Linked DNA regions of Homo sapiens: region 2 is linked to region 1. Evidence: promoter capture Hi-C in human tissues and cell types (Jung and others, 2019). All regions are on one chromosome and are shown on one strand. Each heading gives the region's core, a stretch centred on a gene start or on the middle of the fragment in contact. The rest is flanking DNA. Distances are from core to core; before and after follow the strand shown. Region 1 holds the start of DMTF1 (cyclin D binding myb like transcription factor 1). Region 2 has its middle 450 kb from the start of LINC00972.

What was found. The method cuts DNA at HindIII sites, captures the fragments that hold promoters and counts their contacts. A contact is called where the count stands out against the background at its distance.
Region 2: a fragment that was not itself captured here is called in contact with the fragment with the promoter of DMTF1 in region 1 in 1 of the 25 tissues and cell types used here (dorsolateral prefrontal cortex).

What each region holds. Positions count from the first base shown.
Region 1 is chr7:87,147,892-87,155,140 of GRCh38, reverse strand. DMTF1 (cyclin D binding myb like transcription factor 1) reads right to left here and starts at 2,688. Exons shown (of 18, transcript NM_001142327.2): 1 at 2,586-2,688. DMTF1-AS1 (DMTF1 antisense RNA 1) reads left to right here and starts at 2,648. Exons shown (of 2, transcript NR_136253.1): 1 at 2,648-2,839; 2 at 3,483-3,718. RefSeq lists enhancers at 2,493-3,054, 2,900-3,139, 3,055-3,618. The HindIII fragment of the contact is 5,091 bases long and covers 646-5,736 here.
Region 2 is chr7:85,865,050-85,872,298 of GRCh38, reverse strand. No RefSeq gene overlaps it. Among named protein-coding and RNA genes, the nearest start is that of LINC00972, 450 kb to the right of the region's middle. The HindIII fragment of the contact is 8,908 bases long and covers 1-7,249 here.

The DNA of each region.
Region 1 (7,249 bases), core at 1,439-3,938:
CTATGTGCCAGGCAGTAAATCCTTAGGAATACTTGTTTCACATTATCCCATTCATCCTCACAGGTGTTAATTTAAGCCAATGCACTTAATGAAGCATGGCAAAGGCAACTGTTTAAAATAATGAGATGTTATTTTCAGGACATGTAAGTTTATTACACCATTAATAAAAATTAGAGTCTGTAGATTTTGGAGAGATAAATGAGGCTAATAGAAAGGTAAGATTTTTTGCGGAGGAGGTAAAGGCAAGTTTTTTGTTGTTATTTAAATACTAACCAGTGATATCAAACTAACCTTATAAAATACATACACTATCTCCCCACCTTTAAAGCACCCCTGGGGTGTAATGAGATAACTAAAGGATTGAAAAAAGAGATCTCTAAAAAAAGGACTAGAGGACAGCTATCTACTTTTGATATGAGTCTCCACCAGTAAACATTTCCCAACCATGCTGTTTTCAAAGCTCAAGTCATAACGCCCAAACTTTGATTTCTTCCCCTCAAAATACTTCTAAAACCTGAACACTCAGAAAAATGTTTACATAAAATAATGTATTCATATAACTGCAACGTATGAACTTAAAGTTCTAAGAAAGATGCAATGCCCAGTACTTACTGATTAAATGTTGATGAAGACAGGGCAATAGCATTTTGGCTCCACCATTAGCTCAACTGCAACCAATTAAAGAGATTCACGCAGAATATGCAGGTGCTAAATCAGTCCCCAAAAGCATATTTTGGGGTGAGCCTATCAACTAAAATAGTAAGAAAAAAAATTAGCTTGTTTGGTGGCATACAGAAGCACCTAGTATCGAGAGTTAAAATGAGATAAAAATCACCACAATCATGAAATGTATTTTTCACACCTGTAACATAATGGTTTTTTCCAGATACAATCAGGCTGGTTTTTGTGCTTTCTGTATGGAAGAAAAAAATTATTCTCACACCAAATTGGATTCTCTCAGCATGACAATTTTTGTAACGTTAAGGAATGTAGCTTTAACCTTTTTTCTCTAAATCTTAACAGAATTTCTAAATCCTAACCAAATACATGAAATCCTGTCTCTAAGTACACCATAAGAGCAAAAAGATAAGATTTTGGTGTATCGCCATAGTCATTCTTTAAATGTTAAAGTGATGGCAAATTATTCAAGTTATTAAAAGACAGTAATCCTCAGAAAGCTATTTGAAATATAATTTCAAAACCAGCTTAAAGAAATTTGAAGTAATGAAAAAACATGAAAACCCTTAACTGAAAAAAACAGATTTTGCAATACTTTCAACATAGTGGAAGAATATTTTCGTATTTGGAGCTTAAAAGCTACAAATGGTTTTCTCCCACGAATTAAAAATACAGGTATAATTTAAAATTTTCCAAATGGCGTCACTTTAAGCTTAAGACATGTCATATTAAAAAATAATTCCACAGAATATGCATTTTGTAGGACGTCCCAACATGCAGCCTCGACTGTCAGAAAGGAGGCACACATAATCAAATCCATGTACATTAAAAAGAGGTACACAAAGATGAATGAGTTGCGAAAAAAGCAACTACACAAATTCAATGAGAGAAAGGGAGGAGTCCTGACTCATACTGTATACTATTATCCTTTTCCTTATCTACACCGAGTATTTTATATAAAGACATATGCTCTATCATTCAATTGCACAAAAGGGCACTTGGCCACTTCTACTCTCAAATCTGCTCTGGAGATTGTGGTAAAACATTCTACATACCTCCCTGAAGAAATTCTCAAAGCGAAGTACATTTTAGAGAACAAAGTGGACTTAACAATTTTAAGAACTTTCTCGGAACTCGGCACAATAGGGTAATTACAACTTTACAGCCGCATTTTCCGTGCTCCACCAGGACTGTCCCCGCGCCCCAGCCCACATCCCTTCTTTAAAGAGAGTCAGACTGAGAGAGACGGTTCGGCCAGCTATCCCGATTCTCTATGTCTGGGCCGTGAATCGCCGAGCAAGGCTGAACCCCCGCAAAATTACAGAAGAATCTAAAGCGCAAACGAGGGAAAAGAACAAAAAAGCAAAGGGGGGGAAGTTGGGTCGAGACCCACCCCCACTCTCTCGACCCCACCCAAGCCTACCTCTCCTACGCTGGACCATAAAACAAAACCGAAAACGTAACAAAAATAAAAACTAAAAATAGAACACCACGAGAAAACAAGTAGGGCTTCCTTACTGTCTCCACTCCTTCTGGCCCAGTTCTCTACTCAACCTCCCGGCCCACCCCACCCCCCAGGGGTCCCGGCGCCATTTAGCTCCTCCGAAGCCGCCGCCATTTTCCGCCCCCGCCGGATCGCCGCTGTGCCTCGGCAGCCGCTCGCTTCCCTACTCTGCAGCCTGAGCCACGGGCACCGCCCGGCCCTAAGAGGGAGGCCCTGGCCGGAACGTGCGGGGACGGCAGCTGCAACGTCAGGAAGGCCAGGCTCCGACCCCGCCCGCAGTGCCCCGGCGCCGACAGCTTGCGCCAGCCGGCGGGAGCTAGCGGGCAGCAAGGGGGCCGGACAGGCTCCACTGGGCGGAGCGGCCCTGGCGGCGGTTGGAACCTGAAGGTTCCATCGCACTTACTTCCTGTTTTGGGTCCGGGCACTTTGGAAGAACCAGGATGGAAGCTCCAAAAAATACCAGGATGGAGGAAGCAGCCACGGGCGAGAGTGGCTGCAGCTGGAGTGAGCGAGCGCGACGAGCCACCGGAAACGGAGCTGCGGCCGCGCCCCGCCCCCAGCTCCCCGCACGCTGCCCCTCCCGCTCGTCTGTCCCGCTGGCGGCCCAGCGTGCTGGCTGTACGCGTCACTTCCGGCTGTGTCGGCGCGCGAAAAAAGGTCCTGGGTTGGAATGTTTGTACTGGTCTGTGGCGGTGGTTGTCGGCTGTCCTGCCAGGAAAACTCGGCACTGACTATCCCACTGCTGATGCTGTAAAAGAGGTCCTTCTGCTATGACGCAACTGTGGTTCCTCTGGTTCTGGGGACACTTAGGCCTCGCGTGCCGATTTTCATAGTTCCCTGTGGCTCCGAGCCGAGGGAGCCGCGGTGTGGAACGGAGGGAACCAGTGATCTCAGTGCTGAAGAAAACAGGGAGTGTGTGTCTTCATACTTGATTTGCCTTACCGCAGGGGCATAATATGAGATATCTGGGCGTGTTAAGTCGTTCTTGATGAAATGTGTCCTCTGTGAATGTAGTCTCACTGTTAGACTAGGAAGATGCTGTTTTGCTGTGCCCAGTTCCTCTTAAAAGTACAGATGCTCCTTGGGTTGCAGCCGTATAAACCCATCCTAAATAGAAAACGCGTTTTAATACCCTTATAAACGAAAAGGATAAATAAGCCTTTGGGTTCTGTAATGTGAGCCAGCATTCTTTGAGTGCGTATGTGACAGGTAAATGTTTTACGTATATTAAACTCATTTAATGTTCATAAGTTCTAAGTGCATCGCTACAATTATTACAAATGAATCCCATTTTACACAGGAACCAAAGAGAAGTGAAGGAATGTGTCCAAGGGCTCCCAAGTTGGCGGTGGAATTAGAATTGAAGCCTCAGCTCCAAAGCCTGTGTTCTGAACTACCCGGTTGCAGTTCACAAAATACACTTTGGCAGTACTTTCATAACGAAAACAAATGATTACAACCAGTTTACAAATGCTTTGCTTTACTGGAGGATCGACATGTTTGACTAATTTTCAAAAATAAATCTCAGAAGCAGCATTTTCTTGTGTTGATAACTTTATTACTAATTTGTGGCACTCTGCATTCTGTTGGAGTTAAGCCGTGTATCATTCCATTTTTTAATAAGTACATAATAATGTTTATGTAAGCAAAACTATGAGGCAGAATAGTATCGTGGTATGGACTCAGGCAGTCAGACCTGAGTGTGAATCTTGGCTCCATTTCTTAGTAGTGGATATGGCACTTCACCTCTTTTAGCTTTGTTTACTTTAGGAGTAATAAGATGTACCTTCCAGAATATTGTAGACAGCGTAGTTTGCATGGAATCTGACGTGTATTAAGCATTAAAAATGGTAACTAATAAACCTTAAAGCCAGGAAAGCAATACAACTACTCAAAGAGCAGTTCTAATAAAATAATAATTACATATGCAAAATTGTTGACATTAACATTGATAAGGTGGTTCCTAATGAGCCATATTTTTCATAAGACATAACCATATAGGATTATTTTTGCTAAGGCACAAAATAGTGATATATAAATTATAGTCGGGCTATCCATTCTCCTCTGCTAAATTTTAGGTCAGCCTGCACGCTGCTAACTCCCCGCAAAAAGTCAAGTGCATCCTCATAACTAAATTCTCCCTTTCTGGTTGAGTTTCTTTTATAACTACCTTTTCCCAAGTCAATTGGTATTTATTTGGGGATGACAAATGTATTTTAATATTAGCTTAATGCATAATTTAAAAAAATATAATAACGTCTCTATCCCTTTAGCTTGAATAATCAATGTAAAGACTATCCATAACACAACTTGATTCCTAGAGCAATTTTCTGCAGTTATACTTCTATGTTATCCGTACCTCATTATTTAGTCAATGTGTACCTAGGGAATGGATGAGGTTTTAAATATTATCCAAGGATTTACCTATTTAGGAATTAAATGTTTTGTAGAAAAATCATTAGAAGTATTTCTATCCTAAACAATAATTATTAAAGTATTTATAGCTTAGCTATGGTATTTACTGCATTTGCTAGTTAAAATTGACTTTGTTGGACTCCAGGTGTCTATAACACTTTTGTGAACCTCATCAGTGATTGATGATGAAATTGCCTTTTATGACAGGTTGATATATTAATATAAAGTATTTCAAATACTGAGAAGCAGGTTCTGTTGTTTCATGATCATCTTTTGCTAATTCAGAAAAAAAAAAGATGTTTATAAGCTTTTGTTCAAAGTAAAAGAAAATTACAATTACTGAGTAATTTTCTTTCTACACAGGCTCTGAGTCCTGTTAATATAGCTGATGGGTATACACTGTAGGGCCTTCCAGCTGATGGAGATTGCTGTGCTAATGGAGGAATGAATAAACTGTCCCAGTTATGCCCACACACCAGGCTTTACCAGGTGGTCTCCTGTCTCAGATTCTTCCTGTAGGCTTCCCTCTGGGCCTTATGACACTCCATCTTACAATCCTTTTCCCGCCTTGCATTTTGCCTATGTGTCTCATCTCTGCAATCCTTTTAATACCTCAGCCTGGTGACAACCTCTCTATATCCACTTCACTTTTTTCTTCTTTTGTGGTAAATCTTTGTTGAGACCTATTGATAGAATATTAGCCAGAAAAGTGTTTCCTTATCAAGGGAATGGAGAGCTAAGGCGTCCAATACTCCTAGCCAATAAGGATAAAAATTTTTGTTCTGTCTTTGTAATTTTGGTGTGCAAAACAAAACAGTTCAGATACTTCACTAAAACAGGATAATATCCAGACCCAGACTCAAAGACCTGTTCCTTTATAATCTAGCATGGAAGAGAGAGGGACAATGTATTAGTTAACTAAGCAATAATTGCCATGTTTTGTAAGTTCTGAGAAAGATACAACTTGGGTGCTCTGAAAGTGAACTTTTACATAGAGAGTTCAGAGTAGGCCTTTCTGAGAAGATACTTAAGCAGAAAGGTAAGAATAAAGAAGCATAGTAGGGGGTGCAAGGTGGGAAAGCATTTGTCAAGCTAGTGCATGAAAGCATATTTGCAGAAAGCAACTGGCTTGTAAAATGTTTATAAAATGGTGAAAGCAGAGCACTGCCAGGTGATAGGCTGTCCCTTGCAAATGTTAGCTGAATTTCTCAAAAAACTTTATTGTGGTAAGAACACAACATGACATCTGCCCTCAATAAAATTTTAAGTATATAAAACATTATCATTGACTATGGGTACAATGTTGTACAGCAGATCTCTAGAGCTTATTCATCTTACTTGAAACTTTATGCCCGCTGATTACTAACTCCCCATCCCCTCTCCCCAGCCCCTGGTAAACCACCATTCCACTCTGATTCTAAAAATTCGTCTATTTTAGATACTTAACATAAGTGAAATCATGTAGTATTTGTATTTCTGTGACTGGTTTATTTCACTTAGTATAATGTCCTCAAGGTTCATCCATGTTGTTGCATATTGCAGAATTTTCTTCTTTTTTAAGACTGAATAGTATTCCTATTCCTCTGAGACTAGAGCTCAGTGCATGCCCAGACATAGCAGAAATGGGCCATCTTACCCCTTTGCCATGAGCTTTGATTTGCTAATATATGGCACAATACCTTAACTTAGCAGACATTTAAATGTTTGTTGATATTAAAGATAATTATCTTAAGCCAGAAGACTTGGAAGCTAGCCATTTCTATTCTTTGGCAAGAACAGCTGACTACTGGCGATCACACAGTATTTTTCCAGATAGTGTTGCTACTTGGACAATTCTGGACTAAAACAAACACATGTTACCTATTTTTCAAGTGGAAAGAAGTTATTTTAACACATCACATATTTGGTGTTACTCTAAACCTTATTGCCCAAGTCTTGTGCATCTAGATGCAGTATTTTAAGAATAGAAGCTTGTCATTTTAGCCAGCAGATGTCCCTATTGTTCAGCAGGAGTTTTTTTTTGTTTTTGTTTTTGTTTTTTCTTTCCCAAGTAGTAACTTCAACAGTAGATAGAAATTTTGGGGCCTTCATTGCTAATGATATGCTGTGGCAGACCAAGGACAAGCCTCAACAGTAATAAAGCTAAAGGGATAAGGATTCTGCTTTGAAATCAAAATATGAGAAAGCTCTCTAGAATTAAAAGACTTCTGGATTAATCCCCTTCCCTTCTATTCACTGTACATTTAATTCCTTTGCACAGAATATGCAGTGAAACAGGAAGAAACAAGGAACTACGATAATGTTTATAACTTTCAGGAGTTTGCACATTTGTGATACACTCGGTCATTTCATTCAGCAGCTCTTCCTGAGCACCTCCTTTGGGCTGAGCACTATTTTAGGCACAGGAAATATGATGGAGAACAAGAGAGACAACCCTGCTCTCAAGGAACATATATTCTAATGGAGGAGCTTACATTATAGTAGTATAAGTGCATCTTTGTGCCAAACTTTTTTGGGTAAAGTACTCACTAAATTACTGGCAACTGCCTGTAAAACTTGCTTATAATTAACAATGAGGGAAGAAAACAAAATATGAATCAAATTGATAGCAGTAGGAGGCAGACAAATTCCTTGGTGGATGGGACAGGTCCC
Region 2 (7,249 bases), core at 1,596-4,095, 1.3 Mb after region 1:
TGTCCCTGCAAAGGACATGATCTCATTCCTTTTTATGGCTGCATAGTATTCCATGGTGTATATGTGCCACATTTTCTTAATACAGTCTATCACTGATGGGCATTTGGGTTGATACCATGTCTTTGCTATTGTGAATAGTACTGCAATTAATATACATGTGCACATATCTTTATAATAGAATCATTTATATTCCTTTGGGTATATACCCAGTAATGGGATTGCTTGGTCAAATGGTATTTCTGGTTCTAGGTATTTGAGGAATCACCACACTGTCTTTCACAATGGTTGAACTAATTCACATTCTCACCACAGTGTAAAATCGTTCTTATTTCTCCACAGCCTCTCCAGCACCTGTTGTTTCTTGTTTTTTTTTTTTTTAATAATCATCATTCTGACCGGTGTGATATGGTATCGCATTGTGGTTTTGATTTGCATTTCTCTAATGACCAGTGATGTTGAGCTTGTTTTCATTTCTTTGTTAGCTGCACAGATGTCTTCTTTTGAGAAATATCTGTTCATGGCTTTGCCCACTTTTTAATGGGGTTACTTTTTTCTTGTAAATTTGTTAAGGTTCCTTGTAGATTCTGGATATTAAACTTTTGTCTGATGGATAGATTGCAAAAATTTTCTCCTATTCTGGAGGTTGTCTGTTCCCTCTGATGGTAGTTTCATTTGATGTGCTGAAGCTCCTTAGTTTAAGTAGATCTCATTTGTTAACTTTTGCTTTTGTTGAAATCGCTTTTGATGTTTTAATCATGAAATCTTTGCCCATGCCTATGTCCTGAATGGTATTGCCTAGATTTTCTTCTACAGCTTTTATAGTTTTAGGTTTCACATTTGAGTCTTTAATTTATCTTGAGTTATTTTTCATATAATGTGTAAAAAACAGGTCGAGTTTCAATTTTCTGCATATGGCTAACAAGTTCTCCCAGCACCATTTATTAAATAGGGAATCTTTCCCCATTGCTTATTTTTGTCAGGTTTGTCAAGGATCAGATGGTTGTAGATGTGCAGAATTACTTCTGAGTTCCCTATTCTGTCACATTTGTCTATGTGTCTATTTTTCTACCAGTGCCGTGCTGTTTGGTTACTGTAGCATTGTAGTATAGTTAGAAATTAGGTAGTGTGATGCTTTCAGCTTTGTTTTTTTGCTTAAGATTCTCTTGGGAATATGGGCTCTTCTTTGCTTCACTCTGAATCTAAAAATAGATTTAATTTTCTTATTATGTGAAGAATGTCAATGGTAGTTTAATGAGAATAGCATTAAATTTATAAATTACTTTGAGCGGTATGGCCATTTTCATGATATTGATTCTTCCTATCCTTGAGCAAGGAATGTTTTTCCATTTGTTTGTGTCATGTCTCATTTCCTTGAGCAGTGGTTTATAGTTCTCTGTGAAGAGGTCCTTCACTTCCCCTGTTAGCTGTATTCCTAGCTATTTTATTTTACATATTTTAAGCAATTGTGAATAAGAGTTCACTCATTATTTGGCTCTGTGCTTGTCAGTTGTTGGTTTATAGGGATGCTTGTGATTTTTGAACATTGATTTTGTATCCTGAGATTTTGCTGAAGTTGCTTATCAGCTTAGGAAGCTATTGTGCTGAGTTGATGGAGTTTTCTAGAAATAGGTTCATGTCATTTGCAAAGAGGGAAAATTTGACTTCCTCTCTTCCTATTTGAATACCCTTTATTTCTTTCTCTTGGCTGATTGCCTTGGCCAGAACTTCAAATACTATGTTGAATAGGAGTGGTGGGAGAGCATTCTTGTCTTGTGCCAGTTTTTATGGGGAGTAATTCCAGCTTTTACCCATTTAGTATGATATTGGCTGTGAATTTATCATAAATGGCTCTAATTATTTTGAGGTATGTTCCTTTAGTACCTACTTTATTGAGAGTTTTTAACATGAACGAATGTGGAATTTTATCTAAAGGCTTTTCTGCGTCTATCGAGATAATCATGTGTGGTTTTTGTGTTTAATTTTGTTTATGTGATGAATTACATTTATTGATTTGAATATGTTGAACAAGCCTTGCATCCTGGGGATTAAGATTACTTGACTGTGGTGTATAAGCTTTCTGATGTGCTGCTGGATTTGGCTTGCCAGTATTTTATTGAGGAATTTTGCATTTATGTTCATCAGGGATATTGGCCTAAAGTTTTTGTTTTTTTTTTCTCTTATCTCTGCCAAGTTTTGGTATTAGGATGATGCTGACCTCATAGAATGAGTTAGGGAGGAGTCCCCCCTTTTCAATTGTTTGGAATAATTTCAGAAAAAAATGGTACAAGCTCTTCTTTGTATATTCAGTAGAATTCAGCTCTAAATTTATCTGGTCCTGTGTTTTTGTTTTTGTTTTTTTTGGTTGGTAGGCTATTTATTACTACCACAATTTCAGTACTTGTTACTTGTCTATTCAGGGATTCAGGTTCTTCCTGGTTCAATCTTGGAAGAGTGTACCTGTCCAGGAATTTATCCATTTCTTCTAGATTTTCTACTCTATTTGCATAGAGGTGTTTATATTATTCTCTGATGGTTGTTTCTAATTCTGTGGGGTTAGTGGTGATATGGTCTTTATTATTTTTTATTGTATCCATTTGATTCTTCTCTCTTTTCTTCTTTAATAGTCTAGCTAATGGTCTATTTTATTAATTTTTTCATAAAAACGGATTCATTGATTTTTTTGAAGTGTTTTAGTGTCTCCATCTCCTTCAGTTCCACTCACATCTTGGTTCTTTCTTGTCTTCTGTTACCCTTGAGGTTTGTTTGCTCTTAGTTCTCTAGTTCTTTAAGTTGTGATGTTAGAATGTAGATTTAACGTCTTTCTAGCTTTTTGATGTGGGCATTTAGTGCTATAAATTTCCCTCTTAACACTGCTTTAGCTGCATCCCAGAGGTTCTGATACTTTGTCTCTTTGTTCTCACTAGTTTCAAATAACTTCTTGATTTCTGTCTTAATTTTGTTATTTACCCAGGAGTCATTCAGGAGCATGATGTTCAATTTATATGTAGTTGTGTAGTTTTGAGTGAGTTTCTTAATCTTGAGTTCTAATTTGATTACACTGTGGTCTGAGAGACTGTTATGATTTCAGTTCTTTCGAATTTGCTGAGGAGTGTTTTACTTCCAGTTATGTGATCAATTTTAGAGTAAGTGCCATGTGGTGGCAAGAAAAATGTATATTTTGTTGTTTTTCGTTAGAGAGTTCTGTAGATATCTGTCACGTCCACTTGATCCAAAGCTGAATTCAAGTTCTGAATATCTTTGCTAATTATCCGCCTTGATGATCTGTCTAATATTGACAGTGGAGTGATAAAGTCTTTCACTATTATTGTGTGAGAGTCCAAGTCTCTTTGTAGGACTCTAAGAATTTGTTTTATGAATCTGGGTACTCCTGTATTGGATGCATATATATCTAGGATAGTTAGCTCTTCTTGATGAATTAAACCTTTTATCCTTATGTAGTGCCCTTCTTTGTCTTTTTTTTGATCTTTGTTGGTTTAAAGTCTGTTTTGTAAGAAACTAGGATTTCAACCTCTGCTTTTTTTCTGCTTTCCATTTGCTTGGTAAACTTTCCTTCATCTTTTTTTTGAACCTATGTGTGCACATGAAATTGGTTTTTGAATACAGCACACCAATGAGTTTGACTCTATCCAGCTTGCCCGTCTGTGTCTTTTAATTGGGGCATTTAGCCCATTTACATTTAAGGTTAATATTGTTATGTGTTAATTTGATCCTATCATCATGATGTAAACTGGTTGTTTTGCAGACTTGTTAATGTAGTTGCTTCATAGTGTTGTTGGTCTGTGTACTTCAGTGTGTTTTTGTAGTGGCTAGTAATGGTTTTTCCTTTCCATATTTAGTGCTTCTTTCAGGAGCTCTTGCAAGGCAGGCTTTGTGGTGATAAACTCCCACAGCATTTGCTTGTCTGAAAAGGATTTTATTTCTCCTTCGCTAATGTTTCACACATAGTTTCGCCAGATCTGAAATTCTTGGTTGGAAATTATTTTCTTTAATAATATTGAATATTGACCGTCAATATCTTCTGGCTTATAGGGTTTCCACTGAGTGATCTGATGTTAGTCTGATGGGTTTTACTTTGTGGGTGACGTGACCTCTCTCTCTGGTTGCCCTTAGCATTTTTTCTTGCATTTTGACCTTGGAGAATCTGATGATTATGTTTGTGGGGGTTATCTTCTCATGGAGTATTTTACTGGTGTTCTCTGGATTCCCTAAATTTGAATGTTAGCCTGTCTTGCTAGGTTGGAGAAATTCTCTTGGATGTCCTGAAGTATGTTTTCCAACTTGGTTCTGTTCTCCCTGTCTCTTTCAGGTACCCCAATCAATCATAGGTTCAGTGTTCTTACAAAATCCCATAGATCTTGGATGTTTTGTTCATTCCTTTTTATTATGTTTTTCTCTAATTTGCCTTCATGTCTTATTTCAGCAAGATAGTCTTCAAGCTCTGAGATTCTTTTCTCCTCTTGATCTATTTGACTATTGATACTTGTGGTTGCATTGTTAAGCTATCCTGTTGTGTTTTTTAGCTCCTTCGGGTTATTTATATTCCTCTCTAAACTGGTTATTCTGGTTAACAGCTCTTGTAATGTTTTATTATGTTTCTTAGCTTTTCTGCATTGGGTTAGAAGATAGTCCTTTAGCACAGTGAAATTCGTTATTACCCACCTTCTGAAGCCTCTTTCTGTCGGTTTATCCATCTCACTCTCAGCCCAGTTCTGTGCCCTTGCTGGAGATGTGTTACAATCATTAGGAGTACAAGAGGCACTCTGGCTTTTTGAGCTTTCGGTGTTTTCTTGCATTGTTTTCTACTCCTCTTTGTGAGCTTATCTACCTTCAATTTTTGAGTCTGCTGACCTTTGGATGGGATTTTTGTAGGATCTTTTTTGTTGATATTGTTGTTGCTTTGCTTTTGGTTTGTTTGTTTTCCTTTATCAGGCCCCTCTTCCATAGGGCTGCTGCGGTTTGCTGGGGGTCCACTCCAGACCCTATTCACCTGTGTCCCTCCCACTCTTGTTAGTGTTACCAGCAGAGGCTGCAAAACAGCAAAGATGGCTGCTTGCTCCTTACTCAAGGAGCTCCATCCCAGAGGGATACTGACCTGATGCTGGTGGGAATGCTCCTGTATAAGGTGTCTGGTGACTCCTACAGGGGGATCTCACATAGTCAGGAGTGATAGGATCAGGAACCCACTTAATGAAGAACTGGCTGCCTTTTGGAGGTGTCGGTGCACTGTGTTGGGAGGAATCCCCCTTGTCTGGACTGCCTGGCCTCTTCAGAGCCAGCAGGCAGGAAAGACTAAGTCCACTGAGCCGTGGAGACCACAGCAGCCCTTCCCTCAGGGGCTCTGTCCCAGGGAGATCAGAGTTCTGTCCATAAACCCATGGGTGGAGTTGCTAAAATTCCTGCAGGGTGGCTTTACCCGGTGAGGGGAAATGGATCATGGTCCCACCCAAAGAAGCAGTTTGGCCACGATCTGCCACAGCCACTGTGTTGCGCCATAGGAAAATCTTCCCAGTTCAAACTGTCCAGTCTCCTGGCACTAGCAGGGGCAAATGGCAGACTGGAGCCACAGTGATCACCGCCACCACTTCCCCCAGAACTCAATCAGTTTAGGCAGTCTCCAGCCTGCTGCCACTGGCTGCAATACAAGTGGCTGCTGACTGTCTCTATAGCTCTATGCTTGGACCCCAAGCATGGGCTCATAAGGGTATCTCCTGATCCATGGGATGCACAGATCTGTGGAAACAGTGAGGTTTCCTGGTGGGATAGCACTATCACTCACTGCTTCCCTTGGCTGGGGGTGGATGCTCCCCTTGCCCTATGCGGCTCCCAGGTGGGCCATTGTTCTATACTTCTTTTCCTCACTCTCTGTAGGTTGTGCCAACTGCCTAGTAATTCTCAATAAGAGAACCCCGATACTTCAGCTGAAGGTGCAGGATCCATTCACCATTTGCATTCTTCTCGGTGGGAGCCACCAACAGCAGCTGCTTCTAGTCAGCCATCTTGTCCCCTCCTTTTTATTTTTTATTCTTTGTTTTTTAGTAAGTTATTTAAGTTTATGACAGGTTTGTCATTATCTTTAACTCAAGCACTATTAGGTTCATGTTGTTTAATTATTATGAAGTTAAGGACTTTTAAAAAATATTTTCTTTCGCTCCCAATTTTGTCTTGTGAACAGAGGATATAGCTTGCAAAGCCCTTACATTTTAAATTTAGTCAGGTTCTTTTTGTGTGTGTGTGGCCAACTACTAAATTAGTTTTTGGAAATATTTCAAGGACATTCCATAAAGTATGTTTTTATTCTCTATTTTTAGGATGTATATAACAGGTTCATTGTTATTTAATCACTCTGTTTTTCCATATTTTTGTGTAATAGACCTATATAATTCAAAAAAGTTACATCAAAATCAAATTTTTATTCTGATTTTACTTAGTTTCATTTGCCTTTTCAAACTAAATACTTTTAACTCTTTGTTATTTGGTGTAGTTACAGCTCTGACTGCCATAACATCTTCATAAATTATTTTTCTAATGATATATTTTTCCCCTCTTAATGCCTCTAATTTTAAGATCATGTTCTTAGATAATAACATGATCACTTCACCCAATTGTTGCTCTTTGCTAGGTATTATTTCACCTTCTATGTATTTATTTACTTTTAACCTTTCCTCACCACTTTCTTATTTATGGTTCTTATGAAGAAACACATTTCTTAATAGTCCTTTTAATGTAACCTGAAATTCTTTTTCTCTCCCACTCTCTCATGAATATAAGTAATTCAAAATCCAAGCTGTTGGAACTTTAAGTGTTTAAAGTCTTAAAGGAATGTGATTATGAAACCTGAGTCACAGGACAGGCCATATAACCTAGGCAGCAGTAACCTTTATTTCTCTGATTATACGTTAGTCTTCTTCCTTAATTACATTGTTTTGTAAAATATTGCAAATGACTAAAGGGCACAGTGAAGACCCCTTTACTCTTTACTGTTCATCTTCATTATAGATTAATTTCCCTCTTATCTTTCTCACACAAATACTTCATAACTATCATATCATCCTACAATAAAATGTTAAACATATTTTTAAATTAGTAAAGAAATATAAACAGATGTAAAGAGAAAAAAACAAGCTTTGACAAAAATTAACTAATAAAACAGTTGTATAAACCAGCATCATATAGAAAATGTTGTAAACCTGTTAATTTTTTTTCTCATATAAGCAAGACTTTAATTTTT